Regions from separate parts of the Homo sapiens genome. Here regions 1 and 3 are each linked to region 2. Evidence: promoter capture Hi-C in human tissues and cell types (Jung and others, 2019). All regions are on one chromosome and are shown on one strand. The core of a region is centred on a gene start or on the middle of the fragment in contact, and the rest is flanking DNA. Distances in the headings are between cores, read along the strand shown.

What was found. The method cuts DNA at HindIII sites, captures the fragments that hold promoters and counts their contacts. A contact is called where the count stands out against the background at its distance.
Region 1: a contact is called between a fragment that was not itself captured here and the fragment with the promoter of FAM221B in region 2, in 2 of the 25 tissues and cell types used here (adrenal gland and mesenchymal stem cells).
Region 3: a contact is called between a fragment that was not itself captured here and the fragment with the promoter of FAM221B in region 2, in 1 of the 25 tissues and cell types used here (liver).

Annotation. Positions count from the first base shown.
Region 1 is chr9:36,009,239-36,013,431 of GRCh38, forward strand. It overlaps the pseudogene OR2S1P. Among named protein-coding and RNA genes, the nearest start is that of RECK, 26 kb to the right of the region's middle. The HindIII fragment of the contact is 7,446 bases long and covers 1-4,193 here.
Region 2 is chr9:35,826,006-35,830,562 of GRCh38, forward strand. FAM221B (family with sequence similarity 221 member B) reads right to left here and starts at 2,727. Exons shown (of 7, transcript NM_001012446.4): 1 at 2,458-2,727; 2 at 1-156. The coding sequence starts at 156. TMEM8B (transmembrane protein 8B) reads left to right here and starts at 3,223. Exons shown (of 13, transcript NM_001042590.4): 1 at 3,223-3,950. The coding sequence starts at 3,443. RefSeq lists enhancers at 92-451, 3,815-4,315 and a silencer at 3,080-3,529. The HindIII fragment of the contact is 23,285 bases long and covers 369-4,557 here.
Region 3 is chr9:35,692,750-35,697,060 of GRCh38, forward strand. It overlaps TLN1 (talin 1), which reads right to left. Exons shown (of 57, transcript NM_006289.4): 57 at 4,199-4,311. Among named protein-coding and RNA genes, the nearest start is that of TPM2, 5.0 kb to the left of the region's middle. The HindIII fragment of the contact is 3,222 bases long and covers 740-3,961 here.

The DNA.
Region 1 (4,193 bases), core at 596-3,095, 180 kb after region 2:
TTGCTTCAAGGTGTTTAATCCAATGAGATGAACATTTAGAGGGAGAGTAAAGGTCTTTCAGTCAGATGCCCCAAGCCACTGCGTAAGCACAGACTGGGGGTGACGGGGCTCGGCTGCAGCACAGGAGAAAGCACCTGGGCTTTGAATGAATCCTGGAATCACTAACCCACAGATTGTTGGACCCTGTTAATGAGATTATGATGTTCAGAAAGAAAGAAAGGGGACAAGGAAAGAAGGAAGGGAAAGAGGAAGGGAGAGAAGAAGGGGGAGAAGAAGCAGACAGCTGACTTCCTCCAGTGCTGCCAACATAATTTGTTCTTGGGGATGTTATCCCAGAAGGATAGAAAGTTTCTAAACTGAGTACAACTCACTTTCCAAACCTTAAATGACTTCAGGGTCTACAATGGTCCCAAAGAATAAACTGCAATTTAAATTATCTTCTAAGGGTGATGGCCAGTCCTTTGGAGATTGTGCCCCAAGCACATGAGGCAGGAGAAGCAGAAAGGACCCTTCACCTGTCACATGTCCTGAGCCCTCACCCTGGCGTTCAGACCCAGTGTCACTGTTTCTGACATGTAGCCTCTTTCCAAACCTTGGAAAATCGATCATTCTTGCTCATGATGTTTTTTTATAAAAGTAAGGGCAAGTTTTGGTGAAAGGAATTCCACAATTTTCATTAGCATTGGCTATATTTATTTTTTAAATAAATTGATACATAATAGATATACATAATAGATACATAATATCTATTATTGATACATAATAGATATACATGGTTTTAAGGTACATGTGATAATTTAATACATTCATATAATCTGCAAGGATCAAGTCAGTGTAGTTGGGATATCCATGACTTTAAACATTTGTCTTTATGCTAGAAATATTTGAATTATTCTCTTCTAGCCATCTTGAAAGGTATAGTAGCTTATTGTAAACTATAGTCACCCTCCTGACCTATTGAACACTAGGTCTTATTCCTTCGATCAAACCATATATTTTCACCCATTAATCAACAGCATGGTTACATTTCTATCATCAGACTTGATTGTAATGGAATGGGGGCTTGAGGAGGGCAGATGTGAAGCTGTTTCATTGGTATGATATTATTCTCACAAAATCAAATAGACCTCCTCAACCTGCAAGAATGTCTGAGATCATCTGGCCTCACCCTGCCATCATGCTGAGGAAATGGGGGCTTGCCAGGGACCATACAGCTGGTAGTCCTTCTCACGATTGGTTGTCCTTTCTTGATAAAAACTGTTGGGCTCTTTCTCACTTCATAGTTAGATACAAAGTCTGGCAATAATAATAAGCATGTTTCTGAATCTGATAATGATGACATAGAGGGAATATTTTCTTCATATGATCTGCAGGTTCTTGAGAGTTGGCTGGCCAGCCTACAGTGAGAAACCCAGCTGGGGACTGATACACTGCCCAACACACACATCCCAGCAGCAGCGTGTCTCGGGCACCTCAGCCATCCTCAAGCTTGGGGACCATTCTTAGTGTCAGCCTTTGTAGCGAGCTCCTGGTTGATACATTTGCCTCTAAGAGATATATCTACTTTTTTAAGACCTTAAGAGAAAAAGGGAGATTTATTCTTATTTATCTTCGTGCTGAAACCATACTATTTCTAGATATTTAGGCAGTTGTGTGTAAGAGAGATTAACTGCCTTTAGGGGCTCCAGAAGACAAGGCCAGGTAGAAGTTGCAAGGAGACAGATTTCAGCTCAATATCACAGGGTAACTACTTCAAAATGAAGTGAGCCTTACCAGGAGATAAAGAACCTCACATCACTCAGATAGTCAAATCTAGGTTCTAGGACTATCAGGAATGTGGTAAGGGGCTTTCTGCATTAGAAAGGGGGCAATTACTAAATAGACCCTAAGACCTGTTGTCCTTAGCATTCAAGTAATTGTTATGGTTGATGATGATGATGATGATGAAAGCATTTGTTTGCATGACTATTTCCCCACTAGATTTTGAGCTCTTTGTTCCCAGCACCTAGAATTATGCCTGGCCCAGAGTAGACGCTCAACAAATATCTGTTAACCTGACCTGAATTATTATGGCACTGACTTGGTCACAGCTATAATGTGCTAACCACCAACATAGGAGTATCTCGGAGCTCGTGAGGCAGGAAGCATCGCTGCAACAACAGAGGAGGGGGTTGGATTACTGAGAGCTCTTGGAAAGATAGATATCTGGGAAGTTTGTAAGTATTTTAGATACAGTTCTAATAAAACTGTAGTGCTCAGTTGCCTACAAGTTTTTTACTGGTCCAGAACAAATCATAGTTTGAGAAGCACTTCGAAGTCTGAGGAGTGTTGAGGAAACAATGATTCATCAGTACTTGTTAAAGCACGGCAAAGCAGACTTTATTCAGGACTATCTCAACATGTATAGGGACCACTGCCATGGGATTTTGCAGTGAGGGAGAGAAATTGGGCTCAACTCCAAATACAGCAGGCACAAGTGGGAATTTTTAGCCAAGGAGGGGGCTGGAGGTAGGTAGATAGAAAATTACTAAGAAGAAGCATCGGGGGTAACGGGGATTCTGGCTAAATGGACCTAACAGAATTCTTGCTGAAGAGAGGACAGGGTAATCAGACATCACCTGGGGATGGTGGAGGATGAGGAACCTCATCAAACATTGAAGATGACCAGATATTGAGGAGGGGGGTTCTTGCTGAACTGACTTAGCAGGGCTTTTTGCTGAAACTGAATTTTATAAGCAAGGACACAGATGTACCTAGAAGAAGGTTCAGATGCCTGGCCAAAGTTTGGAAAATCTGAGAATCTTTGTCAAGAGAGATTTAACCTTTCCATTAAATAAAAAAGTAACAGAGCAGGACCCAGGGTTCTGTGAACAGTCTCAGGAACAAGTTAATGCCTTTGCCGCAGGCAATGGAGAATGAAGAGAAGACGGGAGGTTCAGTTGGAACTGTCATTCAACTTGGCCATGGGGCACAGGGGCCTACTTGCTGCCACAGATGTACAAAAGGATCAACCAAATGTTGAGACCTTGGCACCGGATGTGTCGGGGTGCCCGGGGCTTGCTGTCTAGGCAGGTGCCACTAGAGCTGTCCTCTTGGCTGCTACATGCCCCAGGAGACGCTTTATTTTCTGTTGTTGCTTTTTTTCTGTTAGTTTTGATTTGTTTTCTTGTCTCCTTGTGTGCCTTATTCTTTTTTAGTGTGTGCCAGATGTTGTGTTTGCAAAATTATTTGTGGAAATGATTTAGAGACTAGGGTGATGTTATCTTCCTCCAAAGTGGATCTATGTTGGCTTCTGTGAGGCATTTGGGAGCATCAAAACTTGGTATCACCTCAATTCGATTTCAGGGCTTGGGAAGATTTGAAGCTGAACTACAGCATCTGTAAATGTCTGTTTCCTTCTGATTTGCCCTTATTCCTATGGTGCTGCCCTTTGAGAGTCCATCCCAAAAGGAGAACATTTAGTGAGGGGCCTTTCAAGGTGAGTCTTTCACAACAAAACTTACTCCCCATCTCCATGAGGCTGTCAGTAATGCTTCCCAGCCTCTCCCTGGCTCCCTCCAGAAGCTGCAAATGCTCGAGTTGAATCACAGCCACAAGTGCTAGACTTACATCTCTAGGTCCTTGTTTTTCCCCAGAGTCATAACCCTATGTTCCTCATTGTCTTATTACTTCTCCAATGTTTTATGTATTTTTTCCAGTTTGTCTAATGGTCATCTGCAAGACAGTTAGTCCAAATTAGCCTGTTTGTTCTTACCAGAAGCAGAAGTTAAATATTGACCTGTACTACATTGTTCCTAGAACCCCATAGAGATGAACAAATCATCAGCGCTATTCTCCAGTTGCTCAGCAGGGCAAGGATTTGTGCCTGGCCTTCCAGGTACTTTTGGAGTAAGAGGATGCTGAGGTTGACCTCTGAGTTCCTCCAGGTGACAGAGCAGATGCACCATGAACAGGTCCAATGAGGCCTCCCCTGTGTTGGGGTTCGTTCTCCTGGGCCTCTCTGCCCACCCATAGCTGGAGAAGACATTCTTTGTGTTCATCCTGCTGGTGTACCTGGTGATCCTGCTGGGCAACGGGGTCCTCATCCTGGTGACCATCCTTGACTCCCGCCTGCACACACCCATGTACTTCTTCCTGGGGAACCTCTCCTTCCTGGACATCTGCTATACAACCTCCTCATCCTTGACAGCTTC
Region 2 (4,557 bases), core at 1,477-3,976:
ATGGGGCTCTAACGGGGTCTCAGAGGTGGAAGGCTTCAAGAAGCTTTCAGAGATATGGTTCTCCTGTAAGTCCTCAGCAGAGGGGTCCTTTGAAGGGGGGTGCTTCTCTGCATCCATGGTGATATGAGGCTCTTCTATGATCTCATGTGCTTCCATCTAGTGGTAGAACAGGGTACAGGCTTCATTAGGTTGGAAATAGAGGGCCGGCAAGTCAGGGCAGAGCCCAGGGTTCGCAGTGCATTATGGAATTTGGATAAGGATATCAGTGCAGCTGAGATATAAGAGGGAAACAACATGAACTCTGGGTCCTAGAGTGTGATGCCAAAAGGTTCACCCATGTGTCCAGACCTCATATGGCATGCTGCTGTGGCTTGTTAGGGAGCTGGAACTTAAAGATTGAAAGACTGAAGTAGTTCGAATCCCATCAGTAGATGGTAGCAGAGAACCATGTCCCAGGAGGGAGTCTGAACAACACCACTTGGGCAGTCCAAGAGCAGGGTCCTTGGCATATCTTAAAACCCTGGAGGTCAGACCATGGAGTTCTAGAGACTGGCAATACCAAGCCAAAGTTGGGGTTGGCTCCTGAGAGTGCAGGGGAATGCTGTCACATAAGGCAAGACACTGCACGCAGCCTGGTTTTGTCTAGGCACCACACACATCCTCCTCCCTTAATGATGTCATTCATGTTCAAAGCTTTAACTACTTCCAGTTGTGTACCAATGACTCCTAAATTCACATTTCTAGCTCAGACCTTTTTCAACCTCTGTACTTCACACTCATACCCACCTGCCTGCTGGCCTTCTCTTCTCTTCTCTTTTTGTGATGGAGTCTCGCTCTGTTGCCCAGACTGGAGTGCAGTGGCGCAATCTCGGTTCACTGCAACCTCCGCCTCCCGGGTTCAAGTGATTCTCCTGCCTCAGCCTCCCAAGTAGCTGGAATTACAGGCGTGTGCCACCATGCCCGGCTAAGTTTTATATTTTTAGTAGAGACGGGGTTTCACCATGTTGGTCAGGCTGGTCTTGAACTCCTGACCTCAGGTGATCTGCCCTGCTTGGCCTCCCAAAGTGCTGAGATTACAGGAGTGAGCCACCGTGCTTGGCCCCTGCTGGTCATTTCTAACTGAGTGTTTCCACAGACAGCAAAACTGAACTTTGGGAATTATCCTAGTCTTTTCCTTTTCCCTTAGACTCCATCTTCAAATAGGCACCAATAACTCTATTTCCTATCTTCTAAATATTCCCCAAATGCATTCTCTCCTCTCCCTTCCAATTTTATTCAAGTTCTCATCATCTTCAGCCTTTGTGTAATAACTTTGCCCCTCTACTTCCATCCACAGCATTTTAATCCATTCACCCATTCTTTCATGGATTTATGTAACTTATACTTTTACAATGAGCCTAATCTGATGCTTTTACTGACCCGCTGTGCTAAGCTCTAGATTGAGTTGAGTCTAGGAGAGAGACCGATTAACCAACAATGGCAATACAAATAAATTGATGTTGTTCTGGGGTGAGTCTAGGATACGGTGGGGAGGGGGATATACCTAATTTATCCTGCAAGGATGTAGTCCTCCTTCCTGACCCAATCAGGATCTTTCTAAAGTGCAAGCCCAACAACTGGCACTTTGTGGCTTAAAAACATTCCATGACTCAGTCTAAAGGATTAAGTCCAAATTTCTTGGCCCTGGCATTCAAGGCCTGTCATCATTTTCAACACAGCCTGAGGATTCCTGCCTTAACTTTCCGTGCTCCCTACTTTACCCCCATGTTCCAGAGACGCTAGATATATCACTCCTTAAATGCATCAGAGCCTTTTTGAAGGGGATGTTTGGGAAGGGAATTAGGGGCAGAGGTAGGATTACAGGGAGGAAGATGACCAGAGTCAGCTAGAGAGAAAAGGGGCCTAAGAGTGGAGAACCAGAAGATGGGAGGTGAGGAAGGGGAAAGAGAAGGGGAGGAGGAAATTGGGTGGAGGAGGAGAGTAAGGATGAAAAGTACAGAATGTGGGCCAGGCATGGTGGCTCATGCCAGTAATCCCAGAATTTGGGAGGCCAAGGCGGGTGGATCACTTGAGGTCAGGAGTTCGAGACCAGCCTGGCCAACATGGTGAAACCCAGTCTCTACTAAAAATACAAAAATTAGCTGGGCATGGTGGCAGGCGCCTGTAGTCCCAGCTACTGGGGAGGCTGAAGCAAGCAAATCACTTGAACCTGGGAGGCGGAGGTTGCAGTGAGCCCAGATCGCACCACTGCACTCCAGCCTGGGGGACAGAGCGAGACTCTGTCTCAAACAACAACAACAACAACAACAACAACAACAACAACAACAACTACTACTACTACTACTACTACTACTACTACTACTACTACTACTACAACAATGTGAAGGGACTGAGGGGTGGGAGAAAGACAGATGTCTTTGAGGGAAGAGGGCAAGGGCCGTTGGAGAAACCACCTACCCTCTGGGCTTTGGCTTGGTTGTTACAAGTCCTTAGGTCAAGACCTTGACTTAGGATGGCAGGGGGAGGTGTTGATCCTCAGGGAGGAAAGGCTCTTGGTTGTGGATGTGCCTCAGCTGCAGGTGCTGAGTGTTGAAATGCCTTGCCTGAAAGTCTGCTATCTGGGAAGGGGACTTGGATATCTGCAGAACTTCGCAAAGGAGCTCTGGCATGACCTGGGGAAGTGGGTAGGGACAAGGGGTCTAGGGCCAATGAGGGAGGGTCTTGACTGAAGCCTCCGGAACCCGGGCCAGGAGAGTAGGCGCCGGTCACCAGGGCAACCGGAACGCCTAGTAGTCTCCGTGGCAACGGCGGTCTGGTCACCTCCCCGGTGGGTAAGGTCTCCTGAGGGGCTTGCATTGGGCCTCGAGGGGGCGAGCCCAGAGGGTTTACTTCTGAAAAGTGGGGTGTGTGTTGCGGGATCTCTGTGAGCGAGTGTTTGGGTAGGATCTGCGGAGATCTGTGCGTACGTCCGGGGGAGTCTGGGATTGTGAGGATAGGGTTCCTTTGAGACATCTGTGGGGCGGTCGTTGGGGGCTGTGAGGATCTGAGGGGACCTCGGGCTCTGTGCTTGGGGTGAGAAAGGCAGGGTCTCGGGTAGCTGAGGCGGGGGCGGAGTCTGTGTGTCCTCGAAGCCCAGCAGGACTAAGTTGGGGACCAATAGAGTAGGGCGGGGGCGGGCTTTACTGACAGGGACCAATCGAGCCGGCCGGGGGGCGGGGCGTCACGCCGACGTCAAGTCGAGGCCGCCGCCGCGGGGCCTGGTTATCGCCGGTTCAGCGCAGCCCGGAGTCGCCCAGGCCTGAACTCCTACCCAGGTCCCCGGCCCCCGCCCCGGGCCCGCGAGGACACCGGAGGCCACCCCCCGGGGGTGGGGAGCGGAGCCGCGGGCCAGCTCTGCGAGCGCCCCGCGCTGGCCTGTCCGGCCCCGCCCCCGCCCCGGGCCATGGCCCAGCCCTTGTCCCGGCCCCTCGTCCTATCCCAATCCCCGCCTTGGCCCCCAGCCCCGCCCTCGCCCCGCTTCCCACATCGGCCCCAGCCCCTGCCTGGGTCCCCATCCAGGACCCCCTTCCAGTCTCTGCCCCTGGCCTGGCCCCCATCCCGGCCTCGGCCCTCGTTCCACCCCCTGTCACAAATCCCAGCCCAGGCCCTGTCCCAGCCCCATTCCCAGTGTTTGCTTAAGGCCCTGGCTCAACCCCGTCCCTTGCTGCAGTCCCCATCACAGCCCTTCCTTCCATCCCACTCCCTGCCCTTGTTCAAGCCCCAGTGTCCAGCCCAGCCCAACCCATTATCTCAGCCTTTGCCCTCATCTCTGTGTTTACCCAAGTCTCTCCCTCTAGTCCCCCCTATCTCTCATACTCTGCCCCTCTCCCAGCCTAGACTCAAGTCTGGGTTTCAGCTGCCGCCAGCCCTATTGCTGCTGTTGCTGTTCTCTGTCCTTGGCCCAGGGGCTGGTGAGTGCAGAAGCAGGGAAGATTGAGGCAGGAATGGGGTTCCGGCAGGGAGGGGTGGGCTGGAGAGATTCAGGAGAGGTGGGACCTGGGGAACTAGATCATTGGGGAGCAAGTGGGAGAAATAGAGAGTAGAGAGGTCTTACACAACAGGGATTGGCAGGGTCAAAAGAGTGGTAATTAATTGGGTTTGAGGCTCAGCAGGTGGCTTACAGTTTCTAGCACAGAGACTCCAAGATTTTTTCTGGTGTCTGTCCTGACCCCACTTTGACTCTTGCTTTTCCAGGGAAATGTTGTGGGCTTTGCTCCTGCTCACAAAGTTTGATGGGGGAGAGACAGTCCCACACCAGAAGCCCCTAGTGTAGTGTGGGAATATATAGCCCAAACCTTTGAGATATTGGGCATGCATTCAAACGGCATGAAGAAGAGTTTTAAAGATAATATGTAGCAAATAGATGAATATGGATTAGTTGCCATTATAATGAGTTTTCTTCTTGTAATGATTCTTGTTCCAAAGAAGATTGATTTGCCTAGGAATAATTCCTGATACTTTTAGAGCAGGGCTGAAACTCGGAGGCTATTTTACAGATGGGGAAACTGAGGCTCAGGG
Region 3 (4,311 bases), core at 1,101-3,600, 130 kb before region 2:
TGGTTACTGAGACATATGAAGAAAATCCTGTCTCACAACAGATATGCAGTTGGAAAGATTTATTTATTATTTTATTTATTTATTTTGAAACAGTCTTGCTCTGTTGCCCAGGCTGGAGTGCGGTGGTGCGATCTTGGCTCACTGCAACCTCCGCTTCCCAGGTTCAAGCAATTCTCCTGTCTCAGCCTCCTGAGTAGCTGGGACTACAGGCATGCACCACCATGCCTGACTAATTTTTGTATTTTCAGTAGAGACAGGGTTTCACCATGTTGGCCAGGCTGGTCTCGAACTCCTGACCTCAAGTGATCCGCCTGCCTTGGCCTCCCAAAGTGCTGGGCTTACAGGCGTGAACCACCACGCCTGGCCTATTTATTATTATTATTATTTGTTTATTTTTTTGAGACAGAGTCTCGCGCTGTCACCCAGGCTGGAGTGCAGTGGGGCGATCTCAGCTAACTGCAACCTCCGCCTCCCAGGTTCAAGTGATTCTCCCGCCTCAGCCTCCCGAGTAGCTGGGACTACAGGCATAAGCCATCACACCCAGCTAACTGTTGTATTTTTTGTTTGTTTGTTTTGTTTTTTTGAGACGGAGTCTCGCTCTGTTGCCCAGGCTGGAGTGCAGTGGCACAATCTCGGCTCACTGCAACCTCCGCCTCCCAGGTTCACGCCATTCTCCTGCCTCAGCCTCCCAAGTAGCTGGAACTATAGGCGCCCGCCACCATGCCCAGATAACTTTTTATATTTTTAGTAGAGACGGGGTTTCACTGTGTTAGCTAGGCTGGTCTTGAACTCCTGAACTCAGATAATCTGCCTGCCTTGGCCTCCCAAAGTGCTGGGATTACAGGCGTGAGCCACCATGCCGGGCCTGGCATATTTATGTTTTTTTGAGACAAGGTCTGGCTCTGTCACCCAGGCTGTAGTGCAGAGACACAATCACGGCTTGGCTCACTGCAGCCTTGACCTTCTGGGCTCAAGTGCTCTCTCCGCCTCAGTCTCCTCCAGTAGCTGGGACTACACATGTGCACCATCATACCCGGCCCTTTTTTTTTTTTTTTTAAATAGAGATGGTGTGCCACTATGTTGCCTAGGTTGGTCTCAAACTCCTAGGCTCAAGCTACCCTCCTGCCTCAGCCTCCCAAAGTGCTGGAATTACAGGCCTGAGCCACTGTGCCTGGCCGATAATTGGCAGTTTCTTAAGGGGCAGTTGCAATGTAGAATGTGAAACCATATCAGTGACCTTTTTGTACTGTTAAACTAAAATCCGTTGTTTTGGCCAAGTGTGGTGGCTCACGCCTGTAATCCCAGCACTTTGTGACGCCAAGGTGGGTGGATCACCTGAGGTCAGGAGTTCGAGACCAGCCTGGCCAACATGGTGAAACCCTCCCGTCTCTACTAAAACTACAAAAATTAGTCAGGTGTGGTGGTGGCACACGCCTGTAATCCCAGCCACTCGGGAGGCTGAGGCAGGGGAATCACTTGAACCTGCGAGGCGAAGGTTGCAGTTAGCCGAGATTGCACCACTGCACTCCAGCTTGGGTGACAGAGCAAGACTCTGTCTCAAAAAAAAAAAAAAAATCCGTTTTTCTGAACTGCACCTGATTGGATCTTTTACCCATGCATAATTTTGTAACACCGTGCATTCGTCATATGGAAAATAATTGATTCACTGAGCTATGCAAATCTTCCAAATATTAATGTTTCATTATACATTATTTTAAAAATCACAATAGGTTTCAGGCCAGGTGCGGTGGCTCATACCTGTAATCCCAGCACTTTGGGAGGCCGAGGTGGGTGGATTGCCTGAGCTCAGGAGTTCGAGACCAGCCTGGGCAACATGGCAAAACCCTGTCTCTACTAAAAATACAAAAAGTTAGCTGGGTGTGGTGGCGGGCGCCTGTAGTCCCAGCTACTCAGGAGGCTGAGGCAGGAGAATTGCTTGAACCTGGGAGGTGGAAGTTGCAGTGAGCTGAGATTGCACCACTGCATTCCAGCCTGGGGAACAGAGCGAGACTCTGTCTCAAAAATAAATAAATAAATAAATAAATAAATTTTAAAAAAATCACAATAGGTTTCAACAGTAAAGTCTTTGTTTTTCTTCATAGTATTATACTGGAGAACAGTAAAGTCTTTAAGTTTTAAATTTTGGGAAGCTGTGAAGCTCATGTAGCAAATACAAGTGTTCCAAAATTCGATTTTTCACTTGAAAGCTTGAATTATATCATTGGCAACAAACACTGTCAGATTTTTCCCTGAAGTGACAGACTCACTTTGTTCCTTTTTAGAAAAGTTCTGCCAGCTACCTAAATCTGATAACCACAGTTTGTCGGCCATTCTTTTGAGTAAACGTGGCATTCCATAAAAGAGCAGCTAGTTCAGCTCACAACTCAAAGAATGGCCTAAGTTATTTCCTCCAGAAAACCATCATACTTTGGTATGCAAAATGTCTTATGCATACTTCCCACTTTATCAGACAGAATGTTGAAAAGCCTTTTCCTTAAGGATTAAGGTTTAATTAAATTAATACATTTAGGCTGGGCGTGGTGGCTCACGCCTGTAATCCCAGCACTTTGGGAGCCTGAGGCAGGCAGATCATGAGGTCAGGAGTTCAAGACCAGTCTGGCCAACATGGTGAAACCCTGTCTCTACTAAAAATACAAAAATTAGCTGGGCATGATGGCATGTGCCTGTAATCCCAGCTTCTCGGGAGGCTGAGGCAGGAGAATTGCTTGAACCGGGACACAGGAGGTGGAGGTTGCAGTGAGCCGAGATCACGCCACTACACTCCAGCCTGGGCTACAGACCGAGACTCCGTCTCAAAAAAAAAAAAAAATTTTTTTTTTTTACTTCATCAAGGACATTTTTTTTGAGTCTTGCTCTGTTGCCCAGGCTGGAGTGCAGTGGCGTGATCTTGGCTCACTGCAACCTCCGCATCACAGGTTCAAGCAATTCTGGTGCCTCAGCCTCCCAAGTAGCTGGGAATTACAGGTGTGCACCACCATCCCCAGCTAAGGAAAATAATGTCTTGGTATTTTTATGAAAATAATTTTGACCTATGGACCCCTGAAAAGGTCTTAGGGAACCCTAGGGGTCTGAGGACCACATTTGAAGAGCTGCTGGTTTAATAGGTTTTAAAGCCTCTCCCCAGATGGCTCCCAAGGTATCACTAGTGAGAAGTATGTGATTGGTCCCAGTTCCTGAGGACATGACAAGGAAATGGTAACAGGAGTAAGCAGCTGTCCTGGGCTCCTAGCTGGAGTTCAAAGTCTAGACTGCCACTTGTCGGGGAGGTTATAGAAGGGATTTGATCTCCAAGGTCCTCAACTGATACTATGACATTGAATCTGGGATTAGGGAGCCCCCACAGTATGTACTGGAGTTGCCAGTCCTCTGCGTCAGAGAAGTGATAATACATCTCAATTTTCCAGTGCTTAGCACAAGCATGGCTTAGTAAATATTGAATGAATGAATCACAGGTGATAGGAGTGATGGTAGGAGGTTGGCACCATCCCTAATGGGCTGTCCTAGAGTTCCATCTACTTTCTTAGAGAAGGGCTCTCACTCCGTCACCCAGGCTGGTGCACAGTGGCACCATCATAGCTCACTGCAGCCTTGAACTCCTGGTCTCAAGCAGTCCTCCTGCCTCAGCCTTTTAAGTAGCTGGGATTAGAGGCTCGAACCACCGTTACCAGCTACATTCCATCTACTTCAAGCTTTCCCTAATGTGGTGGGAGTAGAAGGTGTTAGTAGCAGATGGGTGGCGTTTGTGTTCTACTTGAGGAAATAATGTACTGGGCGGTAGGGCTGACTAAAGAATCACGCATGAAAATAGTTGCCAACCTAAGACGACTGTCAGAGAGTCCATGCATTATGGACAGAGTGGCTGGATGGGGACGTGGAAGCACACAGCATCCACCTCTCTGACTGCCTCTTTCCACTGACCCACCAGATAAGCAGGGTGGCTGGAACAGGGCTGCTAGCACCTTCCTGGCCACTAGGGGAGCTCTGCCCCCTCTAACAATAAATTCTCACACCTGGGTCAAGCTCTTCACTTTTAGCGCTACCCTAGGCAGGAGTGTCCCAACCCAATCAAGAGCGGTGCCTACCCGAGGCAGCCTCAAGTTGGGATTTTTCTGCTTGCTAATGGCTTCAATCAGTTTTGTGGCCATAGTTCTCTTAGGCTCAGACACTTACAGGCATATTATTTTTAGCAAAGCTTCTTTTGAAAATTTGAATTTGGTCAAGGACTGGATTTGTTGACATACCCTGAGTAGCTATGAAGAACAGAATGTCCTGGTAGCCACAAGGAACTGT